Linked DNA regions of Homo sapiens: regions 1, 3, 4, 5, 6 and 7 are each linked to region 2. Evidence: promoter capture Hi-C in 16 types of primary human blood cells and fetal thymus (Javierre and others, 2016). All regions are on one chromosome and are shown on one strand. Each heading gives the region's core, a stretch centred on a gene start or on the middle of the fragment in contact. The rest is flanking DNA. Distances are from core to core; before and after follow the strand shown. Region 1 overlaps TYW5 (tRNA-yW synthesizing protein 5). Region 2 holds the start of NDUFS1 (NADH:ubiquinone oxidoreductase core subunit S1). Region 3 holds the start of C2orf69 (chromosome 2 open reading frame 69). Region 4 holds the start of TYW5 (tRNA-yW synthesizing protein 5). Region 5 overlaps SF3B1 (splicing factor 3b subunit 1). Region 6 overlaps HSPE1-MOB4 (HSPE1-MOB4 readthrough). Region 7 holds the start of BARD1 (BRCA1 associated RING domain 1).

Region 1 (2,700 bases), core at 201-2,700, 6.2 Mb before region 2:
TATAAATAGTATACAAAACTACAGCAAATATTTTGGTGGTGGAAATGATGAGTAAACTTTATTATATACCTAATTAATTTTTTTCCTTTTATTGGGAAATTTACTTTATTTTCAATTGAATCTAAACATTTTCAGAATATAGGTGCTAGAGGAATACTAAAGCAATACCACAATATAACAAAGATGGAACACTAATCACAGGAAAAACCCTTTTAATCCTGTGAAAGGGAGATTTAAATTTTAGAAACTTATTCTAAGAGTGTTTAAGGAAAAACAAAAGCTTAACATTTTGATTTGGAAAACTAATTTTCAAACATGGTTTTAATCTTAACTACACTTTCTTTCAGAATCTTTTTTTTCCCTTATTCAATATAATAGGAAGAAAATGCTAACCATTCAGCTGAATTTAAACCCAAAGACAGGAATTTTGCTTTTGTTTAAAAATATATGCAAATGTTCAGTATTTTTTTTTTTCTTAAAACAATTGTATGAAGAATAAGGGAAAACTACATAGATCTTAATCATGCTCCCAAGATACAAAAACCAAAAGTGTAAATTTAAAAGATGGCAATAGATTTGAAGACTAATACGTTCGTTGCTTTCAATGAAAATAAGAATAAAAAGTCAACTTTTTATAAATTATCAATTATATGAAAGCCATTATATCATATCTGGCCCTTTTGGGGAAGACAAAGATGAACAAAACATAGTTGTCTTCAAGGAATTTATAATCTAGTCCCAAAAGAAGTCATCAAATATGGATCTTTATTAATATTTACTTATTTTTATCAGTGAAAAGTATTAATGATTCTTAATAGATTAATTTAAATATGGAACTACAACTATAAATAGAATTTGTTAATATATCCCTTTAATTTTAATTATGATTTTTATAATCTTCAAGAGTTCACTTTTAAGTATTAATTACAGATGTTAATTACCTTGCTGTGTTGAACTTTATGGACTTTCAAACTAATGCCTATTAATTGAACAAAGAAATTAAGTGACACAAATCCAGACTGTATAGAAAAATAATGTACACAAATGATACTACAGGTGTTGAGATTATAACATTTTAATATGAAATCTTTCATCTGTTTTGGCCTTGAAAGATACTTATCATTTTTTTTTGGTAAATATTTAAGTGACACAGTTCTAAAATACAGAAATATTTTTAAAATAAAATAATTTACAAAACCAATCAGTATAATCTTTTCCCAAATATAAAGTGTCTTACTTGATGTCATTTAATAGAGTATATTATTTTTAAAAAATAATTTAGAAAACGAACAAGTATAATCTTTTCCCAGATATAAAGTGTCCCACTTTGAAAATAATAATAAATAAATAAATAAAAGCTATAAAAAATGTGTCTTACTTGATGTCACTTAGTAAAATAGAGTATAATATTATTTTTATAGGTTGCCCTTGAAAGCAAGACTGTTAATTTAGTTTATTCAGAGACAGGGTCTTACTCTGTTGCTCACAGTGGAGTACAGTGATTCCATGATGCCATGGCATCAACCTCCTCAACCTCAACCTCAACCTCGTGGGCCCAAGAGATCCTTCTGCCTCAGCCTCCCGAGCAGCTGGGACGTACAGATGCACACCACCATGCCTGACTAAATTTATTTATTTATTTTTGTCGAGACGGGGTCTCGCTATGTTGCCCATGCTGGTCTTGCACTTTTGGCCTCAAGCAATCCTCCCACCTTGGCCTCCCAAAGTTCAAGTTGGGAGGATTGCTTGAGGCCAAAAGTGCAAGACCTGTTAACTTATAGGCCAAAACTACAAGGGCTGTTAACTTATAATAAGTTTGCCTAGGCCTGCTTTAAACACACACACACACACACACACACACACACACACACACACACACACATACACACACACGCACACACAGAGTTTTGTCTAAAAATCATCTTGTATAGGACCGGATACATATAACAAATATATATTTGTACTAAAAAAAAAAAATCACATGAAGGATGAGTGACAGAGTACACATTTTATAAATAGCACATTAGTGAGGTCTAGAAATCTTACCAGGAATGAATAATACATCACCAGCTTCAAGGGAACATTCATATCTTCTAGCCTTGGAAAAAAGTGGATATTTAGCCAAGTCTGGGTTATCTATATTCAGTACTTCTGATTTAGTACCTAAAAAGTTCCAAAAAGGGATAATATAGATTCAGCAAAGTTAGCATTTTAAAAAAAGTAATCACAAATATAAATTTGAAAATTTATTCTTTTCTATCCAGTTACTTACTGTACCAACACTGTGAGAATTACTATGCTACTGACACCTAAGACAATTTTCAATGACTCACTCTTTAATTCTGATGACTGATACCCATGTAATAAGATAATTTCAAATTTGAACCTGTTATTACATATATACACAAATACAATTAGGATTAAGTACTGAAGTGTTCTTTTCCTATAAGAATCAAGAGATTTCTCAAAAAGAGTAACTGAATAGACTTTTGAAATATAAACTTAAAAAAAATCCCATACCTTTTAAATATAAATACTGGGCATCTCGAGGACTGAAGAGTACAACACGCTTTTTTCCTGTCACTTGTATTAACAAATTATCCATTACCTGAAGACCAATAAAAGCTTATGGGTAATCATTATCTAAAATTCAAATAAATAGAACCAATGGCATGCTAAACTTTAACTGCAAACCCGATC
Region 2 (2,700 bases), core at 82-2,581:
CCACCACGCCCAGCTAATTTTTTGTATTTTTAGTAGAGACAGGGTTTCACCGTGTTAGCCAGGATGGTCTCGATCTCCTGGCCTCGTGATCCGCCCGCCTCGGCCTCCCAAAGTGGTGGGATTACAGGAGTGAGCCACCGCCTCCGGCCTTCAATAGCTTAACAGGTCACCAAGCTTCCACACTATTCCCACACAGCCTCTCCCCTCTTGCCACCGGCTGTGACCTCAGACTGAAATGCTCTTCCCTGGCCCCTCCTTATCCTTCAAATCTTGGCTTAAAAGCCTTTTCTCAGTTTCATTGACCAGGCTATCTAACATTTACGATTCCCCCAGCATATCATCCATTTTATTCTTCTTTACGGACTCATTTCTGGCTCGTAGTAAATGTTCAATAACGGTTAAGTGAACTGAATCTCTAATTTCTGGTCGTTAATTTGTAGAGACCACTTTCCCGGATTTAAAAAGTGCAGGTGCTCTGGCAGCCTTAAGTCGGTGAAAACAAGAATATTCCGCAAAACAAAAATAACTTGTTTATTCATCAAAAACAGTTAACGTTACACTTCTATACCGTCAATTCGTGTGTGAACAGAGTTGTGTCTGATCCAAGACCTTACAGTTCAAGCACTGGATCCCAATAACCTGTAAACAACGTTTTGTTATTTGCAATGCAATCCTGGGCTAACTTTTCAAAAGTCGTTTTTCTCAATTTCCCGTTAGTTAAAGGAATAAAAAAATGCTGTCCAACGTGGTCAATGGACCAAACAAACAAGGACAACAAACAGAAGCGTGAGCCATTGCTAACACAACAGCGACCAAACAATCATGCACTGTATCAGGCGTGTAAAAATCTGGGGGGAAAGGCTTAGTCTTAAGGCCTAAGTCATCGGACACTGGTCCTCTCCCGGGGAATAAAACGGCCTCCTCCTCTGAGAGGGAAATGTCCTGAATTTTCCCTGCAGAGGGAAGGTCACCTGCAAGCCTACATTCGTGACAGCGTTCCCGAGGACCCCCTGATCCTCATCTTCTTTTCTGCTTCATCAGACCAGAGACCGTGGCTAAAAGCCCCCCATCTGCCGGCTCTCAGGGGCTTCCGAGGCGGCGGGGCGGGAGGCGGCGCCCAGTCAAGGACAACAGAAGACTACGTCGCGTGGGCCAAAGGAAACAGTCCCGTCAATAAATAAGCCTCTGGCCGACGCACCTCACCCTTCCCATCCATACAAGACCTCACCTTCTCCCCGGAGCCGCGGAGGCTGTTCTGCTAAACTGTCTGGACCACGACGACCCCCTAGGAGGCCGGGTCGCTTATTCAATATGGCGGCCTCGGCTAACTCTGTCAGCCGGGCCTGGAGAACGGAAAGCCCGGAGGGACTAGAATCCTTGCATTCGACAAGTTTGTCGGCAATTTCCGTCAGCCGACCAGAGGGCGGAGCTGAGGTCGGCCCAGCCCGGAGGCGGGAAGGACAACTTGGACCCGCAGTTCCGCCGGAAGTGGCCCCAGCCTCGAGGCCGGGCGTCTTCGGTCATCTCCGGCGCTTCTAGGGCTGGTTCCCGTCATCTTCGGGAGCCGTGGAGGTACGAACTTAAGACATGCCTATTTTATTAATTTACTTCCAAACGCAACGAAAGGTCCATGGACAATTTGTGGGCCATTTAATTCAGGGCCCCCAATTCGTACGTGGAGAAGTGGGAATGCAAAAGTACTTTGACCTTTAACCTTCGGTCCGGCGCGGTGGAGGGAAACGCCTCCGTCTCTATATAAGGAATTTTCCGGTCTCTTCGGGTCCTTTTTCCTCTCTTCAGCGTGGGGCGCCCACAATTTGCGCGCTCTCTTTCTGCTGCTCCCCAGCTCTCGGATACAGCCGACACCATGGGTTTCGGAGACCTGAAAAGCCCTGCCGGCCTCCAGGTGCTCAACGATTACCTGGCGGACAAGAGCTACATCGAGGGGTGAGCGGACGGGCTGAGTCGGGGTGGCGGGGAGGTTTCTCCGCCCGGGGCCGGGGCCACGTGGCGCAGCGTGTCGGCTGCCGCGGGAGGGAGGGAGGCCGGGCCCGGGGCCCTTTCGAGAGGGAGGGGAAAGCGCCCCGTTGCCGTCTCCCAAGGCCCTCGTGTGGGGCGAGCCCGGCCTCCGGGGAGCGGTTCACGAGCAAGGAAAGGTTAAAATGTGCTTTATTTACACTTAATTCAGCCAGGTGTTTCCGCATCGCTGCCCAGTTAATACATGTTAAGCTGTAGATAGAGCAACGCCAGACATTGCAGTATTTGAGGTCTACTTAGTGGCAGACATTTCTCAGGATAGCGCGGTGACCCAAACATATGGTTTGATTTGAAGGAGCTAATAAGAAAAGAAAAGCATTAAAGCAACCCTGCTGGGGTTAGTGCCCACTAATTAATGTGATGCATACGGTATTTATTATTTATTCGCTGGCGTTTGTTTTTCAAAGGTGTGTGTGAATGTTTCTGTGTCCTTGGCAGGTATGTGCCATCACAAGCAGATGTGGCAGTATTTGAAGCCGTGTCCAGCCCACCGCCTGCCGACTTGTGTCATGCCCTACGTTGGTATAATCACATCAAGTCTTACGAAAAGGAAAAGGCCAGGTAAAATCATCTTTGTATAGAGCTGAAGAATAAGACTGCTCTCGAAGTTTATCAGGATGTTCACATGACAAAACTGGACCCAGGCTACTTTAGTTTTGTTGG
Region 3 (2,700 bases), core at 2-2,501, 6.2 Mb before region 2:
TTATCATTTGCTCATTTATGTTCCTACTCCAAGCCATTTGTTATTATTTGCATATGTAGACCAAAGAAAACAGTATGTGTGCTTAAATACACATATATAAACTCCGAACAATTATATATAAAGTGCTTAGATTTCTGGCCTATAGTAAACCCTCAACAAATGTTGGCTGTAGTTTTTTGTAATTTTCATTAATTATTCTCTTTACAGTGCTTTGTCTCACAAGTACTTGGATCTCATCCTCGCTCGCACACATTTCCCTGTTTTGTTTGTTTTTGGTTTATTTTTTGAGACAGGGTCTGCTTCTGTTGCCCAGGCTGGAGTGCAGTGGTGGGATCACAACTCATTGCAGCATACAACTCCTGGGCTCAAGCGATCCAATCTCCCATCTCAGCCCTCCCAGTAGCTTGGACTATAGGCATGCACCACCACGCCCGGCTAATTAAAAAAAAAAATTTAGTAGAGACAAGGCCTCCCTATGTTGCCCAGGCTGGTTTCAAACTGCTGGACTCAAGTGATCCTCCGCCTCGGCCTCCCACAGTGCTGGGAGTACAGGCCTGAGCATACATTTCGCCAAATCTTATTCCTACTCAACTGGCCACAGATAGTTGCTGGACACACATGACTTTCCTACACTGTTTAGTTTTTGAAAACCTCCAAATAGCAAAACACCAAGTAAAGCGTACTGCCTCGCCCCGTTTTTTTCCTGTCCTAGATCATGTACCCTGTTCCCAAACAGAGATGAATTAGCTTCATATCTAACCACAAATTCTCCATGAGCACAGAGATCTTCGTATATCTATAATAATTGTACTCAGGAAACTCAAGGTATGAGGAGAGAGATTCCCTTCCTTCGGGGCTTGTAGGAGACTTCCCACGGAATCTTCTTTGGGAATGTCTCCCTTTTAAGCCCTGAAAGACCAGATAAATCTCAGGTGAACCTAGAGAAACAGGGAGCTTCGTATACTCAAAAGTCTATACATTACGTATTATTGAACGGCGACCTGCGGCCGCCCCTGCTGCTGCGCATGCTCCATAACTGCCGCTTGCTATAGCTGGGAGTACTGTATTATCTCTTTGCTCTTCGCCGGCTCTTCCCCAGACTTCTGTTCGAACTTCCCGGCCGCGGCAGAACCCACCAATCACAAACGCCCTTCCTCAAGCCACGCCCACCGTCTTCTCCGGGATCCCAAGACCGATTTCGCCCACACCCCTCCCTTCCTTTCCTTACGCACGCTGCGCGCGGACGTCGGCCTCTGACGTCGTCGCCTCAGCGCCGGCTCCCGGCCGGGCCGCGGCCGCCGACCGTTGAGCCGCCGGCTGAGCCGCCTGCTGAAGTCCCTCCCTCAGGAACCCCTCCGCCACCCTCCACCTCCGAACCGCTCTCGCGGCGGCGACCCATGTGGGGGTTCAGGCTCCTGCGGTCGCCGCCGTTGCTGCTCCTGCTGCCGCAGCTCGGAATCGGAAACGCCTCGTCCTGCTCTCAGGCCAGAACCATGAACCCGGGCGGCAGCGGCGGCGCGCGATGCTCCCTCTCGGCCGAGGTGCGCCGCCGTCAGTGCCTGCAGCTTTCCACCGTGCCTGGAGCCGATCCGCAGCGCAGCAACGAATTGCTCCTGTTGGCGGCGGCCGGGGAGGGACTGGAGCGGCAGGACCTCCCCGGGGACCCAGCGAAGGAGGAGCCGCAGCCGCCGCCCCAGCATCACGTCCTCTATTTCCCTGGGGATGTGCAGGTAACTCGGGGCCTGCCTGGGTATCTGTTCCTTCCTCTCGTGTATACGTACGCGGTCACTGATTCTTCCCTCGTGGCTGCTGCCTGGTTCCTTTCCTTGCCTGAACACACCCACACATTCACTGAGGGTGGCTCTTCCTCTACTCCACGAAATCCAAAACCGTGCCTTCCACGCCCTTGGCGCCCTTTGTCCATAGAACCCCATGGGGAAGGTGTCCGACGAGGGCTACGATCTCGAAAGAGCCAGCTGTCGGTCCAGGTTTCCAAGAGGCGGAATTTGAGACAGGGAGTGACACGCATCTTGTATATTTATTCTATAATTTGGTTTCTCAGAGGACCGTGTGTGTGTGTTGGGCAGGGGACAGAGCGATGGCTTTCAAATTAAGTTAGCACGTAGTGTTTAGAAAACGGTGGCAGTAATTAAAAACCAAACAAACATTACAAAGGTATGACATCCAGTAACCCTAAAAAAGAGTGGGGATGGGTGGAAGAAAAGGGACAATAATTATTAAGCATGTCAATGTTTTGATGCTCACCTCTTTTGTACTTTTGCTTTTGCATGTTATGTTTATTATTTTATAGCTGCAGGTAAATATCCGTGGTTATGTTGCCCTGAAAACTGGGTCTTAATCTAACGTTGCATTATCTAATATGGTAGCCATTAGCCATATATGGCTATCTGAATTAATTAAAATTAAATAAAACTAAAAATCCAGTTATTCATATTAGCTGCATTTCAAGTGCTCAGTAGCTACAGATGGCTTGCGTGTGCTGTATTGGACAGCACAGATATATAGCATTATCATAGAAAATAATCCATCATCATAGAAAGTTCTAGACAGGTAAAGCTAGACTATAGCTAGGTATGTTTCTCTTTTTTGTTTTTTTGAGACGGAGTCTTGCTTAGTTGCCCAGGCTGGAGTGCAGTGGCGCAGTCTCGACTCACTGCAACCTCCGCCTCCCGGGCTCAA
Region 4 (2,700 bases), core at 69-2,568, 6.2 Mb before region 2:
TCACTGCAGCCTCGACCTCCCGGGCTCAAGCAGATCCTCCGACCTCAGCCTCCAGAGTAGCTGGGAATACAGGCGTGCGCCACCACGCCCGGCTAATTTTTGTATTTTTTGTACAGACGGGGATTCACCATATTGGCCAGGCTGGTCTTGAACTCCTGACCTCAAGTGATCCACCGACCTGGGCCTCCCAAAATGTTAGGATTACTGGCATGAACCACGGCGCCCAGCCCATCCGACTTTTGTAACACTCAGAATTGTAGTTTTGTTTGTTTGTTTGAGACCGAGTTTAGCTCTTGTTGCCCAGGCTGGAGTGCAGTGGCGCGATCTCGGCTCACTGCAACCTCCGCCTCCCGGGTTCAAGCGATTCTCCTGCCTCAGCCTCCCGAGTAGCTGGGATTACAGGTATGGGCCACCACCATGCCCGGCTAATTTTGTATTTTTAGTAGAGATGGGATTTCTACTGGCTGGTCTTGAACTCCTGACCTCCGGTGATCCGTCCGCCTCGGCCTCGCAAAGTGCTGGGATTACAGGCGTGAGCCACCGCGCCCGGCCCCAGAACTGTAATTCTATGACCACCCTTATAAATGTAAATATCAGGTAAGAAAATTGCTGGGTATTTTTCCTACCATAAACTGACTTACTGTAATCCTGTGGATTTTTCCTTTTAATACCTTGTTTTTCTTAGGTCTGGACTCCCTTGAAAAGCACTGCAAGTAAAAGCACTTTTTGTTTCCCTAATATTTCTCTATGAGTTTTCTTTTAAAGACCTAAGGTTCTAACTACAGGTATAAAAGACTCCAATGTCGGAACTAGAACCTAAGTAAGTTAGAATTCAAGACGAGTAGGAGTTTTCCGGGGGAATCCCATTGCTTTCCTTTTTGGCTCAGTGGAGTGAAAAGTTGTGCCTTCAAATCCATTAATTCGGAGCAGACTGACAGATGCGGAGTAAAGAGTTTAGGCAAAATACCTCTCGCACTCAGCTCTCCGCCATCATCTTGCTCCCCAGAAACATGGGACTTTCTCCGGAAATTTCAATAGAGGAGCCAGTCGGCGTCCCCCGTGCACCTTTCCCTTGGTCTAAGGGCCAACCAGTGATCTGCTGCCGTCCTGCGCCTCTTTCCCACACCCTGGGTCTCTAAAAACCAGTTCCCAGCTGTCCGAAAGGTAAAGACGTGTCTCTCGCTGGTTTCTCGAGGTTCTGCCCCGCGCGAGGGCCTCACCTGTGGGTAGAGGTGCTGCATGAACTGCTCCCGAGAAACGCCCTCCAGCCGGGGTACCGGGAGGTGCTGCCCGGCCATGGTTGCTCACGCCTGCCCTCTTCCAGGTCTTCGGAACTTCGGCTCTAAAGCGTTCCTCAGCGCCATCCGCCCGGAAACACGAGCGACAGAGAAAAGGTCCGCGAGGCCGGCAGACTCCAGAGTGGCTGGGTCCGAGCGCGGGGCGGGTTGCCGAAGGGCCTCGGCCTGGGCTGCGTGCTGGAGAGCGGGGACGGGGCCGACTCACCAGAGGCTGCAGCAACAGGTCCACTTTGCTCTCCAGTCTCTTTCTCCGACACCGCTGAGGCGGTTTCCCACCGACTTCCTTTCCATACAGCACCGGCAGGCACCGGTGTGAAGGGTCATAAAAATGGCGCTGGCCGCTCGTTTGCTACCCCAGTTCCTGCACTCTCGGTCGCTGCCCTGCGGGGCCGTCCGACTCCGGACTCCTGCTGTGGCCGAGGTGAGGCTGCCGTCGGCCACACTTTGCTACTTCTGCCGCTGTCGCCTCGGCTTGGGAGCGGCGTTATTTCCACGAAGCGCTAGGGCCTTGGCAGCCTCGGCGCTACCTGCCCAGGGCTCCCGGTGGCCAGTGCTCAGCAGCCCGGGACTCCCCGCAGCCTTCGCTTCTTTCCCTGCCTGCCCTCAGCGCAGCTACAGCACGGAGGAGAAGCCCCAGCAGCACCAGAAAACCAAGATGATCGTCCTGGGATTCTCCAACCCCATCAACTGGGTTAGGACTCGAATTAAGGCCTTCCTTATCTGGGCCTATTTCGACAAAGAGTTCAGCATCACAGAGTTCTCCGAGGGAGCGAAGCAGGTTTGTTTATTTCCCTGATTGACCTATCCGTCTCTAATGAGTTCAACTATTGCTCGCAGAAGTGCTTAGCAGTGAGTTTTCTTCACTGGGATACAAGTGATCAAACGTGATTAGTGGCCCAGACATAGAGCCTTCCAGCCATTGCTTGACTTAAAGTAAGCTTCTGGGCCGGGAATGGTGGTACACGCCTGTAGTCTCAGCTACTTGGGAGGCTGAAGGGGAGGATCGCTTGAACCCAGGAGTTGGACGTTGTAGTGAGCTGTGATCGTGCCATTGCACTCCAGCCTGGGATACAGAGCCAGGCCCTGTCTCAGAAAGAAAAAGCTATATGGCTCATCTTGTCTGAACATAATTTTCAAATTTACAAAGTGGGCAAGACAATGCCTGGCACATAGTAGGCACTCCATGAATGTTTGCTGAATACATTAATAAATGGGTAAGATTGAAGAATAATTGAGATAACATTTCCAAAGTGCTGTAATGTCACCTTGGGTAGAAGAGCAGAACTTCCTGCCAGCTATTAGACAGAGCCGACCAATACACCACCCCATACTCCGTAAAGATTAAACTGGAGATGAGCAATTTTACCCTTTCAAAGGATTTGCTGAGACTGCCTGGTGGCTA
Region 5 (2,700 bases), core at 52-2,551, 8.7 Mb before region 2:
GCTCTTGTTGCCCAGGCTGGAGTGCAGTGGCTGGATCTCGGCTCACTGCAACCTCCGCCTCCCAGGTTCAAGCCATTCTCCTGCCTCAGCCTCCCAAATAGTTGGGATTATAGATGCCCACCACCACGCCCAGCTTCAGGCTTTTTTTTTAAACCACAGGTGCATTTATCACTTTTACCTAAATAGGTTTTTGTAAAAGGACCACAAATGCTACTTCCATGAGGATTTAGGTAAGAAACAAATGGATGAATCAGGAGAAATAGTCTGCAATCTCCTCTACAGCATTAGTCTAGTATAAGGACCACCTACAAAGAAATGACCTGGTGCACCTGTTACAAAGGTAGAACCTTAGGTCTTGGATACACTAACTCTGAAACTCCAACTCAGGCTGTGAAGCCCAGGATTCTGCATCATTAACAAACACCCTAGGAAACTATTTTACCTGGCCCTTCACCCCTCCCATTTCCAACCCCAGCCCACCCCTACCAAATTTTCCAATTTAGAGCATCATTTTATACTTTTCTCTACCTCATACACAACTAAAAAACAGGAAAGGGGTGCTGTTTTATAAAAACTGCACACTACACATATTGTGCAACTTGCTTTTTCCCCCTTATCAGGCATCTCTCTTATTTTCCATCTAAACAACTTTTCCATCCTGAAGTTTCAGCAACTAGTTTCTCATTTGGATAACACTTATTCTGGAACTAATTTCAGCTACTGAATTTTAACTATTGATTTTATGTACCTGCTGATTAGCATCAGAGTTTTCCAATTACAAAGGTTCATAAAGTACTGAAATAGTGTTGGTATGAAATCTATGTAAATCATGACTAGGTTCTTATTAAAATTTAGTAACAAAATTACCCAGCCCAAAATCTCCTGGGGCTAGGCAGCTGTTTGTAGTTAATTAATCCTAAGGTGAGTATATTACTGAACTTCTTATAGGCAGTACAATTAAATGTTTATATGCAAATCAGGCATTGTTTTCTGTCTGCTGGAAACTATAGATATAAAGTCCAAACAGCTTAATGGGCTTTGTTAACACACTGCAAACTGCAGCACATTTACACATACACCATGTGATCCATAAAATTAAGCCGTCAGATTCCATAAAACTCAGCAGCTTATTATGCAATTCAGAGAACTAAAAACTCAGAAATTTCTTAATAAACTATGTGCTAAAATACCAAATATAACATACCCAAATATTTATGAGCAAACAAATTATTACCATGACATTCATAAATAAGGTAACTTTGTGTCTGAGGTTTCGTTTTCAAAATAAATAAAAAGGTGGGAAAAAATACGGCAGAAAATGAAGAACTGATAAAGCTGAGCAGTGGGTTAGTGTTCATTATATTTTGTCCTATTCTCTTCTGCATGTTAAAATATTTCATAAAAGGTAATCTGGGCCGGGCATGGTGGCTCACGCCTGTAATCCCAGCACTTTGGGAGGCCGAGGCGGGTGGATCACGAGGTCAGGAGTTCAGGATCAGCCTGGCCAAGATGGTGAAACCCCATCTCTACTAAAAATATAAAAATTAGCCAGGTGTGGTGGTGGGTGCCTGGAATCCCAGCTACTCAGGAGGCTGAGTCAGAGAATTGCTTGAACCCAAGAGGCAGAGGATGCAGTGAGCCGAGATCGCACCACTGCACTCCAACCTAGGCGACAGAGCAAGACTCCGTCTCAAATTAATTAATTAATTAATTAATTAATTAAAAGGTAATGAGGCTGGGCACTTTGGGATGCCCAGGCAGGCAGATCACTTGAGTTCACAAGTTCAAGGCCAGCCTAAGCAACATGATGAAACCCTGTCTCTACAAAAATTAGACAAAAATACAAAAATTAGTCACTACAGGTGCACACCTGTAGTCCCAGATACTCAGGAGGCTGAGGTCAGAGGATGGCTTGAGCCCAGGAGGCGGAGGTTGCAGTGAGCTGAGATCACACCACTGCACTCTAGCCTGGGTGTTAGAGCCAGGCCTTGCCTCTAAATAAGTAAGTAAATAAATAAATAGGTAATCTGTAGAAGTAATTAAAAGTAATTTTCCAAATTTTTCTCTCCCCTATCCATGCCAGCCAAGGTTTGTAAAATTCCACTTCAAATTTTTTATCTCTGGGAATAACAATGTTGTCTCTAACTCCGTATTTTCAAAACCAACACTAAGTTACAGCCTGGTGTGTAAGTATTCCTATAATTTCTTAAATATAAACTGACTAAAAATATGCAAATAGATCATTTCTGACAACAAATGATCAATGCATAAAACTGCTTGGCAACTGGCTGAGCGCGGTGGCTCACGCCTGTAATCCCAGCACTTTGGGAAGTCAAGACAGTTGAATCACTTGAGATCAGGAGTTCAAAGCCGGCCTGGCCAACATGGTGAAACCCTGTCTTCACTAAAAATACAAAAATTAGCCAGACATGGTGGTGGCACGCCTGTAATCCCAGCTACTTGGAAGGCTGAGGCATGAGAATCGCTTGAACCTGGGAGGTGGAGGTTGCAGTGAGCCGAGATCACAGCACTGCACTCTGGCCTGGGCAACAAGAGAATCGCTTGAGTCTGGGAGGCAGAGGTTGCAGTGAGCCAAGATCACGCCACTGCACTCCAGCCCGGACGACACAGTGAAACTCCATCTCAAAAAAAAAAGGCGGGGGTTGGCAACTATGAAAATAAAAAATGAGAGAACATACC
Region 6 (2,700 bases), core at 56-2,555, 8.7 Mb before region 2:
ATGGTGATGGGTTATATTTATGCTTTTCTATTTGACACTAGTTTGTCAGAGTTGGAAAACAGCCACATGCTCACCTAGTCAGTGTGACCTCAATGTAGTTGAGATGAGAAACAGGAAGACTTCAGTGTAGTTTCTAACCTGATACTGGCATTTAATATCAGGCATATGATGTCCTATCAAGTTTCTGAAAGACAACGTGAAAAAGGCATCACATAGTCCTTGAGGGGTGATCGTCCTTGGCGGCCAGCAGCAATGACAAAGCAGTGAGCGCACCAGGGTCACCCCGCTCAGCTGTGGTACATTTTTCCCTTGGCTCAGCTGTAATCCATAGTTTCACCCCAATTAACTTCCCAGATACATTGCGTCTTTTAAGCTTTGTTTTGTATTGCATTGGAAAGAACAGTGCTGAGAAGCTCTCCATGGTTACCTGAGCCTCAGTGACCACCATCTTCACCTGAAGCTGCCCAGCATCCAGTGACCAAGTATCTAAGGCCACTTAGCAATACTGGAGTTGCTCTGGTATCCTCCAAGTGTTTTTTTATGTCTTGTTTTATTTTAGGAAAATTTAATTCTGGAGTGAACATTTTTTTTTTTTTTGAGACAGTTTCTCTGTTGCCCAGGCTGGAGTGCAGTGGCATGATCTTGGCTCACTGCAATCTCCGCTTCCCGGGTTCAAGCAATTCTCGTGCCTCAGCCTCCCAAGTAGCTGGGCTACAGGCGCCTGCCACCATGCCCTGCTAATTTTTTGTATTTTTAGTAGAGACGGGGTTTCGCCATGTTAGGATGGTCTCGATCTTCTGACCTCATGATCCACCTGCCTTGGCCTTCCAAAGTGCTGGGATTACAGGCGTGAGCCACCGCGCCCGGCTCATTTCATTTTTAAAAACTTAACACTGCTACATAATTTGGTTAAAAAAAAAATCTAAGGCAAGTAATTGCAGCTACTTGGAAGGCTGAGGCAGGAGAATGGCTTGAACCTGGGAGGCGGAGGTTGTAGTGAGCTAAGATTGCACCACTGCACTCCAACCTGGGTGACATAGACTGTTTTGAAAAAAAAAAAGTATATATATGATACATATACATATATGATATATGTGATATATACACACATGTATATACGTGTGTGTGTGTGTGTGTGTGTGTGTGTGTGTGTGTGTATATATATATATATATATATATATATATATATATGATAGCTAACATTGGCTGAGTGCCTTCTCTCTGGGGTGAGCACTGTGTGATAGGATAGCTAACCGGAGCATTTTCTAGGTGCTGGTTACTGTTGAAGGTGCTTTTCATGTATTAATTGGTTTAATCTTTCAACAACCCTATGAGATAGGTACTGTTCTCAACCTGCAGATGAGAAAGCTAAGGCATAGAAGGGGTTAAGTAATAACCAAGGTTGCTCAGTGGTAAGTGGCAAAGCCAGGATTCAGACACAGTCCATCTCCAGATGTTACTGTTTAAAACTTGATCCTTTATAGCCTTTGCTACTTTGTTAATTCTAAGCACTTAATACACATTATTTCAATTAATCCTGGTGATACCCACTGTGGTATGGGGAATGGGTAGTACCAAATGATGTATGTCACTTAAGTTCCTAGTACACCATGTGTTGAATTTAACAAAACTGAGTCAAAGCAGAGGATAAATAGCTTGATATAGCTGTAGCAGCTAGGGAGAAGACTTAAGATTCAAACCCAATAATACTACACTAGAATTTGGTTGGGTGCGGTGGCTTGTGCTCGTAATCCCAGCACTTTGGGAGGCCGAGGTGGGCAGATCTCTTGAGATCGAGACAGCCTGGGCAATATGGTGAAACCCTGTCTTTACAAAAAATACAAAAAGCTACTCAAGGGGCTGAGGTGGGGAGGTTAAGGCTCTGGTGAGCCGAGATTGTGCCACCACACTGCAATCTGGGTGACAGAATGAGACCCTGTCTTTAAAAAAAAGAATCCTACGCTAGAATTGATTACCAACCCTTAAACTCAACTATCAGCTACCAGCTGTCTTAGTAGTCAAACTTATTTTCTAGGTTTAATTATCCATAAACTAGTCTGATAATGTCTTTTAAAGGTTGTGTCCCGTATTTATTTTGAGAGGAATTAAAATTTAAAGTTTTAAATGGCATGGAATAATGATCTCAACTTTTGATCATCTTCCCATCTGTAAAGTAGTAGGTACTTCCACTATATGTATATTTACGTTTATGCACGTGTTACTGCCTTTGGTGTACTAAAGCTTACTTTTTGTCAAACTTCGATACTGGAATTATGCCTAAAAGTTATTTCTTATATTGTCTAAGTGGATTATCAATTTCATACTCTACTCACGCACAGCTAGATAATATGCTTTGCTCATCATAATCTTGGGAGCACAGATTTTTCTGTATTACCAATGAGAAACCTTGACTTAAGAGATAAGAAATCGTTCCAAGGACATGTGGCTAATATATTGTAGAGTAAGGAATCTGTTCAAAGGCTATGGCTTTCCCATTATTCTCCAATGCTATTTTCCTAAGACCCAGCAAATTAGTTTTGATATCTAAGGTAATAGTTCACAAAGCTTGGTTCATCTTTGCAATTGCCTGGTAAACTTAAAATTTCAGGGCCTCATCCAAACCTACTAAATCAGAAGGATAAGAGAATTTTTGAACCACAGAAGCAGTCCTATTGTGATGCCTGCCTAGCAGAATTGCTA
Region 7 (2,700 bases), core at 97-2,596, 8.7 Mb after region 2:
AGGCGGAGCTTGCAGTGAGACAAGATCGTGCCACTGCACTCCAGCCTGGGCGACAGAGCGAGACTCCGTCTCAAAAAAGGAAAGAAAAGAAAAAGTTGTGTTACTTATACTTTATGCAACTAGGTAACTTAAGTTCTGCAAGTTAGAAATCAAAGGGGAAAAAAGTCCAAAAAGGATATAAACTTTTGACAGCTACAAATAACAAAAAAACTGCCAGTGATCTTCATACAGAAATACTTAGCTGTACACACAGCAAGTGCTCAATAAAAATGCTTTTCAGAAGAAATGAAAATGAGACAAACCTTTCTTGGGTTTTACAAACCTTCTTGGTTTGTATACTAGAAAGAGCTACACGAAAAAAAGCAAGAAGTAACACTCATGAAAATGTCTTTGGACGGAATGAAAACCCTGAGAGGACTCCCATAATGTGACAGCATGAAGGAAAACAATAAACAGCATCACTAAGAGCGGGGACACCAGACATACAGTCTTTTGAGCAAACTAAGAAAATGAGAAATTCCGTGCCATCTTCAATCTACAACTATGGTAGATATCCGATGCTCCATCCCATCTCACTCGAAAAAGCTGGCACGGAGAAAATGTCAAAAAGGCCAGTTTAACTTAGAGTGGCAGCTGCTTCTAATTTAGAGGGTCTCCGGGGCGGCCCGCCAGCCCAATTCGCCACAGCTCCCGGAAAGCAGCGGGGTAATCCAGGGCCGGGTAAAAAATGCAGAAGCCTCAGCCCCACCCCAGCCCGATTCAAACTCTGGAGGCGCGACCGGGATGAACATTTTTTTAGCCACACCTCCAGACGGTTCTTCAGCCCGCTGAAGTTCAAAAACTACCGTTTCAGTTGGATTCAGGGCAAGGGGAGGCCGGTAAGTCGCCCAAAAATAAAGTGAATGAGAAGCAGAAGTTGTTAATACTATATCCCCCGGCAGGTGCTAACCGCACGCCGACCCGACTGCAGCGCGGGAACGGAAGGAGGAAACGGAAGATTTGAAAAGATTCTGCCGCCCCCAGAAACTGTGCGACCCGTGCCCTCGCAGCCACCCCCAAGAAGCTCCGTCTTTACCAACGCGAGCAGCGCAGCAGCTTCTCCAGGCGGTCGAGCGCGGCGCGACTGTGGGCCCAGGCACCGCGACCATCCGGTTCCATGGCGGGCGCGGAACGAGGCTCGTTCCCGGAGCGGATCCTCGGCTGCCGGTTCCTCGGCTGCCGATTATCCGGCATCGTCCCGCCTTCGGATGAAAGGCTCCTCGCAGAGCGGGAAGCAAGGAAGCCTCGGGAAACCACAGGGAAGCTGCAGGCCAGCGACTCGAAACCGGCCAAGCTCTTCCCGCGTCTGGGACGGCGGGCCGCCAGAGGGGCGGGGCGCGCGGGGAGGGGCGGGGCACGGCGGCCGCAATGCTCCCAAAATAGGGACTCGCAGGGCACAGGGGCGGGGCCGCGAGAGCCAGCCGCTGGCCGAGTGGGCGGGACCTAGGGGTGGGGCTGGAGGCTGAAACTTGCCAAAGTCCCGGCGTGTGGGACTTAGGGGAGGGGCCGCGAGAGCCGTGGGACCGAGGGGGCGGGGCCGGACGGCTGAAACTTGCCAAAGTCCCGGCGCGCGGGTCCTAGGGGCGGAGCCGCGAGAACACGCCGGGGACAGAGGGGGCGGGGCCTAGGAGCCTCGGGGCGGGACAGGACGGTCGAAACCGAAGTCCTGGCGCGCGGGGCCCAGGGGCGGGGCCTAGGGGCCTCGGGGCAGGACAGGACGGCTGAAACCGAGGTCCCGGCGCGCGGGGCCCAGGCGCCGTGCAGTGAGAGCACGCCGCTTGACCGAAGGGGCGGGGCCTGAAGGCTGAGCGCAGTCGCGAGGCTGTAGTTGGCAGGAGAGCGGGCGGGGCCTGAAGCCCCTCTGGGCTGCCTGGACGGATGAAGTCCAGGTGGAAAGCCAGTCGACGTTTCCCGGGAGCTACGACTCCAGGGACCCTCATCCGAGCTTAACCGTTGGAACAATCACAAACCCAGAAACTTTTAGCTGAGTGTTATTTATAAAAAGCGCTGTTTTGACTGCTGTTGGACTTGGAAAAGCTTTGCCCACGATACTGAAGGTACCACTCTTTGTTCCTAAGAAAGCAACCTTTTCTTTCCTCTCACCTCAGCTGTGGCGTATATTGTAACTGAGTAAAAATAAGGAAAGTTTCTAATTCTAACTAGTTAACAAATATCAGCTCAAAGGCATGTCTGAAAAGATCTGGTTTACTTTTAAAATATTGGTATAAAATTTCAAAAAGGGTTTTTTTTGTTAGAGAGTGTGTCCACCTTCCTCCTCCAGATCTTTCACTGATCGCCGTAATTTACAGATAAGACCTACAGAGCAACCCGTCATGCCTTCCTGCCGCGCCCCAAGTTCATTTCCAAGTCCTTGCATTTTTTCCCCCTAACTTGTCTCGAATGCACCCATTTTCTCTCCGTCTCTGCTCCACAACATCCCCAGTTGCCTCGTCCTCGCCTGGTTTCCTGTCGTAGCTTTCTAGCTGATATCCAAGTGTCTATCCAGGTCCCAGCCAGTCCCGAGACTGCGGTGTGGCCGCCTAAAACATTTCCAAACACAAAACTCATCGTGGCACTTCCCTTTCTTAAAACTCCTTAAAGTTTTTCTCTGCTCTTTGACTAGCCTCTTGTCAAAACCTCCTCTGGCCATCATGGTCCCAA

The links. The method cuts DNA at HindIII sites, captures the fragments that hold promoters and counts their contacts. A CHiCAGO score of 5 or more calls a contact.
Region 1: a contact is called between a fragment that was not itself captured here and the fragment with the promoter of NDUFS1 in region 2, in 1 of 17 cell types (total CD4 T cells). The highest score is 5.4, in total CD4 T cells.
Region 3: a contact is called between the fragment with the promoter of C2orf69 here and the fragment with the promoter of NDUFS1 in region 2, in 1 of 17 cell types (total CD8 T cells). The highest score is 5.4, in total CD8 T cells.
Region 4: a contact is called between the fragment with the promoter of TYW5 here and the fragment with the promoter of NDUFS1 in region 2, in 7 of 17 cell types (naive CD4 T cells, total CD4 T cells, total B cells and 4 more). The highest score is 12.1, in naive CD4 T cells.
Region 5: a fragment that was not itself captured here is called in contact with the fragment with the promoter of NDUFS1 in region 2 in 1 of 17 cell types (neutrophils); the score reaches 6.9 in neutrophils.
Region 6: a contact is called between a fragment that was not itself captured here and the fragment with the promoter of NDUFS1 in region 2, in 1 of 17 cell types (total CD4 T cells). The highest score is 8.5, in total CD4 T cells.
Region 7: a contact is called between the fragment with the promoter of BARD1 here and the fragment with the promoter of NDUFS1 in region 2, in 3 of 17 cell types (total B cells, monocytes and neutrophils). The highest score is 7.4, in total B cells.

What each region holds. Positions count from the first base shown.
Region 1 is chr2:199,933,885-199,936,584 of GRCh38, forward strand. TYW5 (tRNA-yW synthesizing protein 5) reads right to left here. Exons shown (of 8, transcript NM_001039693.3): 6 at 2,521-2,608; 7 at 2,047-2,163. Among named protein-coding and RNA genes, the nearest start is that of TYW5, 20 kb to the right of the region's middle. The HindIII fragment of the contact is 2,345 bases long and covers 279-2,623 here.
Region 2 is chr2:206,158,113-206,160,812 of GRCh38, forward strand. It overlaps NDUFS1 (NADH:ubiquinone oxidoreductase core subunit S1), which reads right to left and starts at 1,332. Exons shown (of 19, transcript NM_005006.7): 1 at 1,229-1,332. EEF1B2 (eukaryotic translation elongation factor 1 beta 2) reads left to right here and starts at 1,783. Exons shown (of 6, transcript NM_001959.4): 1 at 1,783-1,947; 2 at 2,476-2,598. The coding sequence starts at 1,868. RefSeq lists enhancers at 1,010-1,419, 1,530-1,789 and a silencer at 2,050-2,119. The HindIII fragment of the contact is 3,079 bases long and covers 173-2,700 here.
Region 3 is chr2:199,910,042-199,912,741 of GRCh38, forward strand. C2orf69 (chromosome 2 open reading frame 69) reads left to right here and starts at 1,252. Exons shown (of 2, transcript NM_153689.6): 1 at 1,252-1,730. The coding sequence starts at 1,398. It overlaps LOC101927687 (a long non-coding RNA gene), which reads right to left and starts at 1,105. Exons shown (of 4, transcript XR_923766.4): 1 at 984-1,105. RefSeq lists an enhancer at 1,384-1,573. The HindIII fragment of the contact is 7,031 bases long and covers 1-2,700 here.
Region 4 is chr2:199,954,173-199,956,872 of GRCh38, forward strand. TYW5 (tRNA-yW synthesizing protein 5) reads right to left here and starts at 1,319. Exons shown (of 8, transcript NM_001039693.3): 1 at 1,221-1,319. The coding sequence starts at 1,298. MAIP1 (matrix AAA peptidase interacting protein 1) reads left to right here and starts at 1,410. Exons shown (of 5, transcript NM_001394955.1): 1 at 1,410-2,076. The coding sequence starts at 1,627. RefSeq lists enhancers at 963-2,162, 1,273-1,392, 1,563-1,722, 1,743-1,842. The HindIII fragment of the contact is 7,808 bases long and covers 1-2,234 here.
Region 5 is chr2:197,426,326-197,429,025 of GRCh38, forward strand. The region is part of intron 1 of SF3B1 (splicing factor 3b subunit 1); the gene reads right to left. Among named protein-coding and RNA genes, the nearest start is that of SF3B1, 7.4 kb to the right of the region's middle. The HindIII fragment of the contact is 5,523 bases long and covers 1-2,700 here.
Region 6 is chr2:197,504,495-197,507,194 of GRCh38, forward strand. All of the region lies in intron 2 of HSPE1-MOB4 (HSPE1-MOB4 readthrough), which reads left to right. Among named protein-coding and RNA genes, the nearest start is that of HSPE1-MOB4, 5.5 kb to the left of the region's middle. The HindIII fragment of the contact is 1,868 bases long and covers 372-2,239 here.
Region 7 is chr2:214,808,337-214,811,036 of GRCh38, forward strand. BARD1 (BRCA1 associated RING domain 1) reads right to left here and starts at 1,347. Exons shown (of 11, transcript NM_000465.4): 1 at 1,076-1,347. The coding sequence starts at 1,233. It overlaps SNHG31 (small nucleolar RNA host gene 31), which reads left to right and starts at 1,893. Exons shown (of 4, transcript NR_110292.1): 1 at 1,893-2,096. RefSeq lists enhancers at 286-335, 626-705 and a silencer at 1,256-1,825. The HindIII fragment of the contact is 4,673 bases long and covers 1-2,074 here.